2 separate regions of the Homo sapiens genome follow, and region 1 is linked to region 2. The links are contacts of gene promoters, found by promoter capture Hi-C in human tissues and cell types (Jung and others, 2019). All regions are on one chromosome and are shown on one strand. The core of a region is centred on a gene start or on the middle of the fragment in contact, and the rest is flanking DNA. Distances in the headings are between cores, read along the strand shown.

Evidence for each region. Contacts are between HindIII fragments. The study calls those that stand out against the background at their distance.
Region 1: a contact is called between a fragment that was not itself captured here and the fragment with the promoter of DNER in region 2, in 1 of the 25 tissues and cell types used here (dorsolateral prefrontal cortex).

The regions. Positions count from the first base shown.
Region 1 is chr2:229,262,091-229,267,893 of GRCh38, reverse strand. The region is part of intron 1 of PID1 (phosphotyrosine interaction domain containing 1); the gene reads left to right. Among named protein-coding and RNA genes, the nearest start is that of PID1, 6.3 kb to the left of the region's middle. The HindIII fragment of the contact is 6,246 bases long and covers 1-5,255 here.
Region 2 is chr2:229,710,515-229,716,427 of GRCh38, reverse strand. DNER (delta/notch like EGF repeat containing) reads left to right here and starts at 1,873. Exons shown (of 13, transcript NM_139072.4): 1 at 1,873-2,280. The coding sequence starts at 2,005. RefSeq lists enhancers at 417-1,190, 1,191-1,965 and silencers at 1,803-1,862, 1,933-2,042. The HindIII fragment of the contact is 6,115 bases long and covers 1-3,244 here.

The sequences.
Region 1 (5,803 bases), core at 883-3,382, 450 kb after region 2:
GAAGCAGATTTGAAACAGACTCCTTTCAGAAAAGTAAAGGAGACTTTTCTGAACAAATAAAAACCCTACTGGTTTTTATGAAATAGAGATGAGATTACCTCTGGCCTTGAAATTTTAAAATTTGTATGAGTTTCTGGATTGACTTGATGATTGTACTGGGTGGATCCCTCAGAAGTAACAAACCCATCCATGCAAGACTGTGTCCCATCCATAGGAACAAGTATTTTCTCAGAGCAAATGTCTTCACTGAGCTACCAGATGCATTTTCTGGAGGCCTTGATAGGAGGAGAAAGATGAATCAAGACTGACTTAGAAACGAAGGAGGTCAACACATCCTTAAAGGTCTTTGGTGTAGTTATTACTAGGATAGAGTGGAATGTGATAGGCGTATGAGTTCTAGCAGATTCTAATTGTGAAGTTTACATGTAACCATCTTCTCATGAGGCATTCTATAAAGGTTCCAATATAATCATCTAGCTGTCTTCACTGAGATTACCATTTCTCCATGGCAGATTCAGAAAAAACAGCTTTTTATTCACAAAGCTGGATTTGAGTTTTGCAGCCTGGGCAATTTTTTCTGTTCCATCCATTACTTCCTTTTTCATCCTCGTTGTGGCCAATGTCTGTGTACTAGCACTTCCACAAGAGGGAGAAACACAGTGAAGAGTAGGGAGGACCCCAGATCCTGAAAAAGCTTTCTTTTGGTTTCTTCTGAAACTTTTGGTTGATGAAGTGGTTGAAGTTTCCAGCTAAATACTATTTGGGGATTTTAGGAGCCAAAGTCCTCCTCTGAGGATTATCTCACCCTTTCTCTGCCTTGTCCTATCTGGTAGATGTTGTCTTGACTTGGAGTGTGGATCGTTCTAGATTTTTCTTCTCTATGATGATGCCACTTTCACTTTTCCCCTGAGAAGTGAGACTGGAGAACCCTCTAAAACGTCAACTGGAGACCATTAGCCCTGGCCCATCAGGCAGGGTGAAAACCGGCAAATCTGATACTTTTCCAGGCTGACCAAATTGACAAAAGGAGCAAGGATTAAGAATGGGAAGATACTAGTAACCTGCTTTTGTGGTGCAGGCACTGTGTGTGGCACTGTGCCGAGGAGCTTTATTTTAACTATCTGGCTCATTTGCATCCTGTAACCACTTTTATCCGCATTTTAGAGAGAAACTGAAGGCCAGAGAGTCGAAGTGATTTGGCCAGCGTTGAGCAGCTAGAAATGAACTGAGCTGGAGTTTGAACCAGACAGTTTGGTTCCAATCCTTACTTCTTAAGCACTTCACCATAGTGCAGAAGGATAAGACAGGCACAGTGCAATGTACATGTTGGTGCTGTTGTTATTAATAAATACAGTTAGAGCAATGACTGTTTTGTGGGCTCAGAGAGGCTGCTGTCCTATTTCTTGCTGAAGCAGTGGGTTGACCAAAGGCTACTCTGTTTTTGGTGGCTCAAATCTTTGGTGGCACATAAGCTGCTGTCTCCTATTGAAGTTAAAATTCACAAGTGCCATTGAAGAGCTTTTCAGCTGAAGCACATAGCATTTATCCAAACTAGAGACCTTGAAAGCCGGTGATTAGGGTGGATTGTGTACACATTCATTCCAAGTTTAGACAAAAAAAAAATGGGGAGAAGGAGGGAGGAGGTTGGAGATTTTCAGAGCGGTTGCTTAGAAAAAAGCAACAGCTATTATTACAGAGGCACAGGTTTCTCACTAAACCCATTCTAGATTTTGTTGTTGTTTTCATCAATTGTAGTTGAGTAAGCACAAAACATCGGGCCCTATTGTTCATAAAGAAAACTAGGAGTTGTCATTAATCCGGGGCCTTAGTCTCCCTCAGGAATAAAATGCTATCTTACATCATTGAGTCTTTCTCCAAGTTTGTCAGCAAATCTCTTTCAAGCGATTTGCAAAATCCTAGCCTGGGAACAAACTCTGTGCCCCTTGCTTAACCATGGCCTAATGGCTGTTTCGTGTTGACTGTACTGAGTTATCTTGGAGTGTTAGGCAACTTTTGCATTTTGTTTGATGTTCCAGATTAGGTCCCTCCCATACCAATACCCCTCCACACTGACCCCATTCTACCATGAAAATTAGCCTTGGAGGAGACTCTGGGAGAATCAGCCTTACAGCTTCAAGGGTACTGGAGATCAGGCTGCCTTCTACAAGGTATTTTATTCTGTGAATAGCAGCAGTTCAGGGACTTGTTAGTGGTCAGGAAATAAAACTAGTCCAGAACACTCAATGACTGCAGTGTGCTTCTTTCAGCCCTGTGGACACAAATTTAAACAGAGGCTTTATATAAGTAGAGCAAGAAGAAATAGTTGAGTCGTTTGTCCAAAGACCTCCTTAAAGTCTAGTGGAATTAGTCTACTGTCATTTTGTGTTCACTTAAAAAAAAAGTTGTGATCCCTATTTAGCTGCTAATCAGTGATAAAGCATCAGTGTATTCACCAGGTCCAACCCTTGAGGCCAAAGACTGCAAAAGGAAGGTGTCAGGGAAAAGACACAGACTTGTTTTGTGACTGGCATATTTCAATGCTTCCAGCATCTTGACATGCTCTTCCACTTAATGCTGATGCCACGTGGATCAATAATCTGGCTGAGGTCTTCTTTCCCATGCCTGATGGCCCAGGATTCCTCTGCCCTCTTATGTTTCAACCGAGTTCTTACTTTGATAAGGGAGGCTCCAGTAATGGCCTTCTTAGCCAGGTTGTTTCCTGAATAAGAAATCATTTGGGTAAAAAAAAAATAACGAAAAAAAAGCATATCTGTCTCTTTATAAATAATTTTGACACAATCGCTTACTAGCAATGTTTCAGTTTTGTAACTTCTCTGAGCTTTGCTTTCCCTATCTGTAAAATAGAGAGATGTGCTTTGCAGAGATTTTGGTATGTAGCGTATAGTAGGTGCTCAATAAACAGAAGCACTTCTTAATGTTGTTATGGTTGGTCACTGTAGGAATGGAGTGTTGAGTTTAGATCTAAGCTCCTGTCTTCTCTTCTGTCCATCTTTCTTGTCCATCTACTACGTCCCAAGTACTATGCTGGGTGTGGGTGAAGGGTGAGAAGAAGGGCATAGTTGTAAACTTAGAGGACTCACGGTCCTATTCCTTATTGTTCAAAGTTGGACTTAATATATATTTCCTAGTATGATTGTAACTTTCAGTGTTTCTGTTCATATGAAGAAGATCCCTAGCTAGCTCAGCTTTATAAGCCAGAACCAGTATGTTAATGACCTGCTCACTGTCCACTTGTCTCTGTCTCCTCACTTGGGGAAGCTCCTTTTATTCTCAATGTATAGGAAAGTGCGACGCACAGAATGCAATTGTCTTTACAGTTGGGGGTGAAGATGATGGAGGTTCATATATGATAGTGGGTGTTAGGGTATGGGTGAGCTGGGCTGGGACTTGGGGGCCACATACCTTGTGGCCCTTGATCACTTGGGTCCCTGTTTTAGAGAGGCCTGGGTGTGACTATCCTGAAAATGGTCTGAGTTGACATACCTCTTATATCTCCTTTAGTTTCTGCCAGGCGGTGGTCTCCAGGTCAGGATGAAGTGTTAGTTCTCTCATGTTATAAATGTAGTAAGGGAAGTCGTGCTGAAGTTGACTATTGGGAAATTTCATGTATACTACTGAGTTGAGAGTCCACTCCTCCAAAAGAAATTTTAGATAAGTGAAGCCGTTCTAGAAGCCATCAAATGCATGTTTGCTCCCAACTATCCACAGCTAGAAGGTTATATAGCGTGGCAAGTATTCTCAAACAGGGCACAGAGAAGGGGTGCTGTGGTCAGGGTCCCAGAAGCAACATTTCCTTCCACTCCAGCAGTGCTGCTAGCAGACTCTCATTTAATTGGGTTTTATTGGTGATTTTTACTTTTCCAGCCATACTCATTTCCAAGTATGGAGAAAATCAAGAAATGTCAGCTACCATTCATTGCAGGCTTATTTAGTAGTAGTGTCAGTAATAATAACAATAGCAGCCACCTTTTTCTTAGTATTTACTGTGTTCCCAGCACTGACCTGTCCTCCCAACAGCCTTTGGCAGTAGAGCTGGGGTTCATAGCCAGCAGACTGGTTGTAGGGTCTGCACTCCTAAGCACTGTGCCTCTTGTGTCATGGAGCAGACATTTTGTTTTATATGAAAAGCATATTTAATCCTTGAGAAAATTCTAAGGGACAGAGATTTTGTTGTCTCATTTTTCTGGATGATGTAACAATTCTCCAGAGACTACAGATAACTTTTGCTTGAGTTCATTAACTACACATCTTCCATCTCACCTTTTTCTCTGCAGATGAAGCCCCAGCTTGTTCAGGCAGCAGATGGTCATACCTTGGCCTGAGGGTGGGTGTTCTAGCCCAGCCATGATAATAATCTCATACTGGTCCAAGGATTGTCAGAGACCAGTTTTTAACCATTGGGATATGAGAGGATATCTACTAAAGATACTTTACCTTCATGAATAACAAATAAAGCTTCTTGGGGAAATAGCCTTTTCCTCCTTTTCTGTCTTCTTGCTGTCCTGAGCATAGATGTGATGTCTAGCATTGCAGCAGCCATATTGTGATTCTGCAGCAATACATGACAAGCCTTAAAACCAGTCCACTAAGAAGGCTAGCATGATAAGATGGAAGGACTTGGATCAGTAAGCAGCACCTGAACCTACCTCCTAACAAAAGTTATATGAGAAAAATGTGACCCCCTTTCATTTGTTTATGCCCATATGTGAATTGGGACTTCTGTTACATGTATCTTTGACATTCCTAACCAACACAGCTACTAAGGGACCAAAATTCAGATTCAAACCCAAGCCTCCATATGTTATTCATTGTTGAAGGTTGAATTGTGTTCCCCTAAAAGATGTGTTGAAGTCTTAACCCCTGGTACCTGTGAATGTAGCTTTATTTGGAAATAAGGTTTGTGCAGATGTAAGCAAGTTAAGATGAGGTCATATTGAATTAGGGTGAACCCTAGAGCCAATGACTAATGTCCTTATAAGGAGAGATTTGCAGACACAGAAGCGGCACAGAGAAGGCCATTGTGAAGATCAAGGCAGAAACCGGAGTTATGGCATCATAAGCCAAGGAATGCCAAGGATTGCTGGCAACCACCTGATGTTAGAAGAGTCGAGGACATGTTCTTCTCCAGAGCTTTTGGATGGTGTGTGGCCCTGCCAACCTTTACATTTTGGACTTCCAGCCTCCGAAATGGTGAGAGATTAAATTTCTGTTGTTTTAAGCTACCCAGTTTATGGTTATTTGTTACAACAGCCCTAGGTAGCTACTACACCAGTGAAACCATATAGCCTCTTGACTATGTTTGGTCACTCTACTTCTGTGATGTAGGTATCCCCAACTTTCACATACTGCGACACAATGCATGTGTCTATAAGGAATCCTTTTTTTAATACCGAGTGTGAGTTTATCTACTGTGGATTAAAAAAAAAATGAAAACAGCAAACAACTAAGCTATTGCTTCTTTCTCCTTTATTTCCTTCTGGTGGACAACATCCTAGGAAAAGGCAGCAAACCTTGAGTGTAACATGTGCTGTGTTGCTCAGGGAAGGTCCTCTGGAAAATATGGTACATGAGCTTCAGGCCTGAAGATGGTTCGCTTTGGAGATGAAACTTATGGGCTGGAATGTGAAACACAGTTACTTTGAGGTGGACCTCAGTGAAACTTTTCCAGACAGGCTGAGACCAAGGGAAGACTAGTATTAAGGATTTTATCCTCAAAACAAACTAGGTTGTCAGAGTCCCTGTAGGCTCTCTGGGTAGCAGCCTCTGTGATTTGCCTCTTCCT
Region 2 (5,913 bases), core at 624-3,123:
AGAATACTTTTAGCAAGGAAAATTATCTGAAACATGCAGTAACCAGCATCCAGAAAATAAAACCACTTTTAATTATCCTATATTTCAAAATAATATGAAATACACAAACAAAGGGGTTGCTCAGGCAAAAGTACAATAAACTGAAATGTGATTTTAATTAACTCACAACCTTTTTACACTTCATCTTGCTTCATTTGTGTGTGTGTCTTGATGGAAGGCAATGAAGAGCACTATCCACTAGTCCAGGATTTAAGGTAAGAGAAGTTAGTTTCAGGAAAGAACGCAACTCCAGGGGCACAGAAACCACCTGAATGACGACACTAGTACCAGCAGAGGGTGCTGGCGTGGCACAAAATTAAGAATTTTCAAGAGGAAGAGGTCTTAGATTGAAAGACAGCAGGTGTGAGGAAAAATGTAATAACTCTATCCACTTGGAGGTCTGAATTCTCCGCTTGCAGATCTGTCTGGGGTTCAGTGATTTCCTGCAATGGCCACATGAATTTTAGGTATCTCCTGAAGCAGAAAAGTGTGACATTTGCTTCTGCGTTTGAACAGGACAGGGAGAAGCCGTGCAGTTTGCCTTCTGTTTCCACTGGAGGACTTTTAGCAATCCCTGGCGTCTGTGACACCTACAGCAGAAGTTCACATGGAGTCCTTACTTTAATTTTTTTAAAAAACAAAACAAGCTATTTTTGTGTTTACTAAAAAAAAAATTGGCCCAGACTGTCAATCCAGGGGAATCACATTTTCTTTTTTCATTTGGCCACCTTAAAAAGAAGGTAACAGGTACCTGGGAACCCACAGGTAATAGAGATTGTGAAAGGTCAGGTGGAGGAGACAAGGCTGGATGCGCTTTATTCAGCGGAGTGCAGCCTCCTTGGCGGTCGCAGCACCAGCCAGCCCAGCCAGGACGTGTAGAAGAGCCCGCCCCCCCCATCCCCTCCGAAGTAGGTCACAGCGAATGCTCCTTTTATGCAGAGTCCCCTGTTGCGATTCCTGCCGCTAGCAGCGCCTCTGCCAACCTGGGCTTTTGAACTGTTCTTTCGGGCGTTCTGGGCTGGGAGTCAATTGACCCACTGGATTCGAATCCAGACTTTCTGGGCCTCAGTTTCCCCCTAGGTTCAACGACAGGGGTGGACAGCCTTACACCAAGGCCTCTTCCCGGCCTCACACGGCGCGGCCAGACGTTCCTTAGTGGTGCGGCAAGGCCCCGCGCTCTGGAAAGGGCCGGCGAGAATGAGACAGCTGGGTCAGCACCAAGGACAAGGGCCCCGGGTCCGCCTGGCGGAGGCGAGGTCACTTCCAGGCGAACCCGGCTGCTGAGCAAGCGTCGGGCGCAGGGTTCCGTGGCCGGGCGGGAGGGCTTGGGGTGCCGGGAGAAGCGCTGTGGGAAGGGGAGCAGTCCCGGGGGATGAGGCAAGGCCGGGCCCCGCGGCGGTCTCGCAGATTCTGCGCCAAGAGGCCAAAGGTGGCTGCTGCGAGCGCGCCGCCCCTCCCTTGAGGCGCCCTGCCGCCTCCCGCGCCCTGCCCTGCCCGGGCCTTGGGGCGCACTCGGTGCTCCCGGCTCTGGAAGCCCCTCAAAGCCCCGCTTCCCTCACTCGTGGACCTCTCCAGCCCCTTTCCTGCCCCAGCGTCGCCTGGCTCCCTGTACCAGGGCTGCTTCTGGACACACCCGTGACTTCGACCCACTCCTGGGGGATGGGGTCCCGCATCGTCTTCCTGCAACCCCCATCCCAACTCCCTGCGGGGAAAGAGGCCCCACTCCCCGATGCTCCAGAGCCGGGGCCGCCAGGCGCCCCGCCCCCCGCTCGCCCCGCCCCGCCCCGCCCCGCAGGCCCCGCCCGCCGTTGCCCGGGGAACCGCGGATCCCGCAGCTGCAGGAGGCGCCCGGCCCGGCGGAGCAGCCCTAGCCGCCACCGTCGCTCTCGCAGCTCTCGTCGCCACTGCCACCGCCGCCGCCGTCACTGCGTCCTGGCTCCGGCTCCCGCGCCCTCCCGGCCGGCCATGCAGCCCCGCCGCGCCCAGGCGCCCGGTGCGCAGCTGCTGCCCGCGCTGGCCCTGCTGCTGCTGCTGCTCGGAGCGGGGCCCCGAGGCAGCTCCCTGGCCAACCCGGTGCCCGCCGCGCCCCTGTCTGCGCCCGGGCCGTGCGCCGCGCAGCCCTGCCGGAATGGGGGTGTGTGCACCTCGCGCCCTGAGCCGGACCCGCAGCACCCGGCCCCCGCCGGCGAGCCTGGCTACAGCTGCACCTGCCCCGCCGGGATCTCCGGCGCCAACTGCCAGGTGAGTGGAAGCGGCGGGCGCGGTGCGGGGCGCTGGTCCGGGACCAGCAGCCTCTTCCCGCCGGCCCTGCTGCTGCTGCCCGACAATGGGCACGCCTGACACAGGCTTTCCCACTTTGGGAAGAAGATGGATCCAGTCTCTTGGCCCGCGTGGACGCGGACCCCCGGGCCGACCCTGATTCCCTTACCCGCCCTGGTTCCCGGGCGGGGCCAGCCGGGCTCTCGGGGTGTGCCGCTCCGGGGCTCGGCACTTCTCGCGCGGGGCTCTAGACGCTCCGGTTGGCCACTGAGTGGCGCGCCCCTCCAGGCCGGGCCGAGCCAAGAACCACTTGAGCGGTGCCCGCCTTGGCAGCGCGGAGGAGCCGGCTCCGAGCGTCCCCGGCGAGGTGTTCAATGTCCAGGTGGTCCACGCTCCACGTCCGGCTGGACCCTGTGTGTGTAAAGGGTGTGCGGTGTGGGAGGCAGGTGATGGTGGGCCCCGTGCCAGGTGGTGGGGCACTTTCTCCTTCTCTTCCTACGCCCTTGAGGGCTGTGACAAAGCAGCCAGAGGACGAGGAGGGCAGCTGCCTCCCCTCGGCCTGCGACCAGCCCTCTCTAAGCTTAGGAGCAGTGTTGGAACAGTCGGAGGCATTCGAGGGGGCATTGTACGTGGCGCTGGCAGGGCCGCCCTTCCTGCCGGACGCTCCACGGGGCGCACGCTTGGGGCTGGCAGCCGGGGCGTGAGCAGGGCACCGGGAAGCCGCCAGAAAGCGTGGGGGCGGTGCGAGGGATGGGACGATGGGATGTAGCCAGCAGCCGCCCGTGAATTTGGGGTTTTCAGGAGAATTTGGCAGAAAATAATATCTGGGGCTTTTACAAGTCCGTTAAAGCTCTGTGAAACCTATTAACATCAACATTTCCAGTAGGCAATTTGGTAGGACTGTGTGTACGGGTAGAAAATCCCCAAACCTGTATTGCAGGGTAGGGCAAATAATGAAGTTATCTGAAATGATTACATTAAACCACATGAATATGGACGATATTTGGGATCAGATACTATCTTCCTTACATTTAGGGTGGAGGAGTTTGTTTCATATAAATTTGATAACAATGATTGGAGAGTTACTTTGAGAATGCTCAAATAGGTTCTTTCAATGGGGAAAAAGGCTGCCCTTTCATTATGACAGGTTTTACATTTTTTAGAGGTAAATGGGATTGAGAAACTTGACCTTGACAGCCAGATTTTTTTGCATTTATCTAGAATCTTTTTATTTCATTTAATAGCAAATTAGCAAACTGAATCTATCTTTTCAACACTGTGCTCTTCCTCTTTGTTTACTGGTTACAATAAGCTTTAGTTACTTGAAGGGAGGTGATGAGGAGGAGGAAGAATTTGTGTGATGTGAGCCTCAGGAGTAGATTTGGGACATGATAGCTTCTTGGGGGAAATGCCTGTTGGAGCCATTCTAACCATTAGAACAAAATCTTGCTTTTGCAAAAGTCAAAATAACTGCAAATCAAAAACCAAGGAATGCACTCACGCTAATTTTCCCTGTGGATTGATGATTTATATGACTTTTCCTGAAGAAATGAATTGTCTGAGTGTGTCCATCAAACTGCTGTTATATTCACACGTCTGAATTTTATCCTTCAAAGAAATAGTTGATTTGGACCTAGGGTTTAGTGGGAATGGATGGGAGAAGGTAGGTTAGAGTGCCCATCGATTTACATGAGAAGAAAGACTCACTGGGAATTTAACACAACTCTGAGATGGTTTTTGGTGACTCTAAAAACAGATATAAGACATCTTCAAGAAAAAGAGCTCTTTAGTGCCACCTAAAGATGACTAACAGCGAAACATAAATATTTTGATTTGTCCTAAGTAGTGACTTGATGTATAATATAATTCATTCCGAAGAGTCAGGAACTAATACATAACATTGCAGGACCAACTGGATCAAAACAGATTCAGATTTCTTTTGTAGCTCCCATTGGAGGTAGGCTTAGCTGTGTGAACACCATCCACCTGAGCAGAAGCAATACTGCATGCCCTGGTGTGTGAGTTGGAGAGAGCGGTGAAGTTACTGTAATCCTCATAGGAAAGCTTAGTGAACTTGGAACTTGATTGGACTTGGTTACCCAGAAAAACTTACTGAGATGATTCAGGGCCTTACAATCCATAAAAATGGATTCCTGATGATTTTAATTTAATCGTTCATGATCTCGCAGTAAGACTTGAGACTCATTTTTCATGGGAACAGCAAAGAACACAAAAGACAATTTCAGAAGAGAAGTTAAACCTGGGGTGGTGGGGAGGGGAGGGGAGAGAGGGAGAGAGAAACTACACATACTCAATTACAGATAAGGAAATTGGATCTTAGCCACTGCAGACTATGTGGTTGCTGAAATAGAACCTTGTGCTCACTGGATAAATTGGAAATGGAATTTTACCTGGATGTAAAGAGGATCTTTTAACAGAGCGTCACTCCTCCTTCTCCAAAGACAATAGTGTTAGCAATGGTAACATTAGAACCTAACCTTGAAGTTTCTTTCTGTGTGTGGGGAAATTTTGAGAAAATCATAAACTACGAATTAGGATTAAAATGGCTGTCTTTAGGCTTTTTTAAAAAAGGATGTCTTTAGCTTTTCTGTGGTTGGCTGATTGAGTTTGCGTAAGTCAATGGGGTCTAGGACATGCTTCTTTTGTCACCTGAGTCATGGAAACTCCTAGGATTTGGGAATTGTAGGTCGTGTGGGTTTGAAGTCAAGCTGAAGTTAAAACTACTGGGTCTTATTTCCTCATCTTCAACGATGGGATCTATGGGACCTACCTCATGAAGATAGTGATTCCATTCCTTGATGTCTGATTGCTGCTGACAGCTTTAAAGCCTCACCTCTCCCCTTCCTCTTTTCCTCCACATCAAAACAAGCTGATAAGAAAGCCCAGGGGTTCCCTCCTTTGGTGCTGGTGGGAGGTTCAAACCATGCAAACTCCTGCCCTGTGCTACTCCAGCCCCAACCCCAAAATGCAGCAAAACCCACAAGCCAGTCTCCTTTCCCTGTTCTCAGAAGCCATTTAAACCCATTTGGGAGCTGCCTGCTCTCCCCAGAGAGCCCCATTATGTCAGCAGTAAACCTTTTTGTATCCTGTGTGTGTGTGTGTGTGTGTGTGTGTGTGTGTGTGTGCGCGTGTATGCATGCCATTTTCAGTCTCAGGGTCCAAACCAAATTTTGAGTGGGTGTCCATCCTGTCTCTGTGGGATGTTCACACTAAGGTTCTGGGAAGGATTAAATTAATTAAGTGCTGTAAATCACTGAGCACCTGTGACATTTCTTTCTTTGTAAACTTTCTGCACATATTTCAAATGCTCATTACCTTAACTAGATCGAGCTAATCATCATCTCTTTTAGTCAAATGCAGAAAATGAAGCTCATTTTGATTGAGTGACTAATCCAAGGTCACATTTTGATACTGCCCTGAAAGTCCTCTAACACATGCAAACATCTTAAATCATGAGAAATTCAGCTGATTTTAAAACTGTATATGAAAATCTAATTTGTAGATATGTAATGATGATGATGATGGTAGCTTACCCTCCTTTTAAGCACTTGCCACGTGCCTGCACTGTTCCAAGGACTTTGCAGACATAACTTG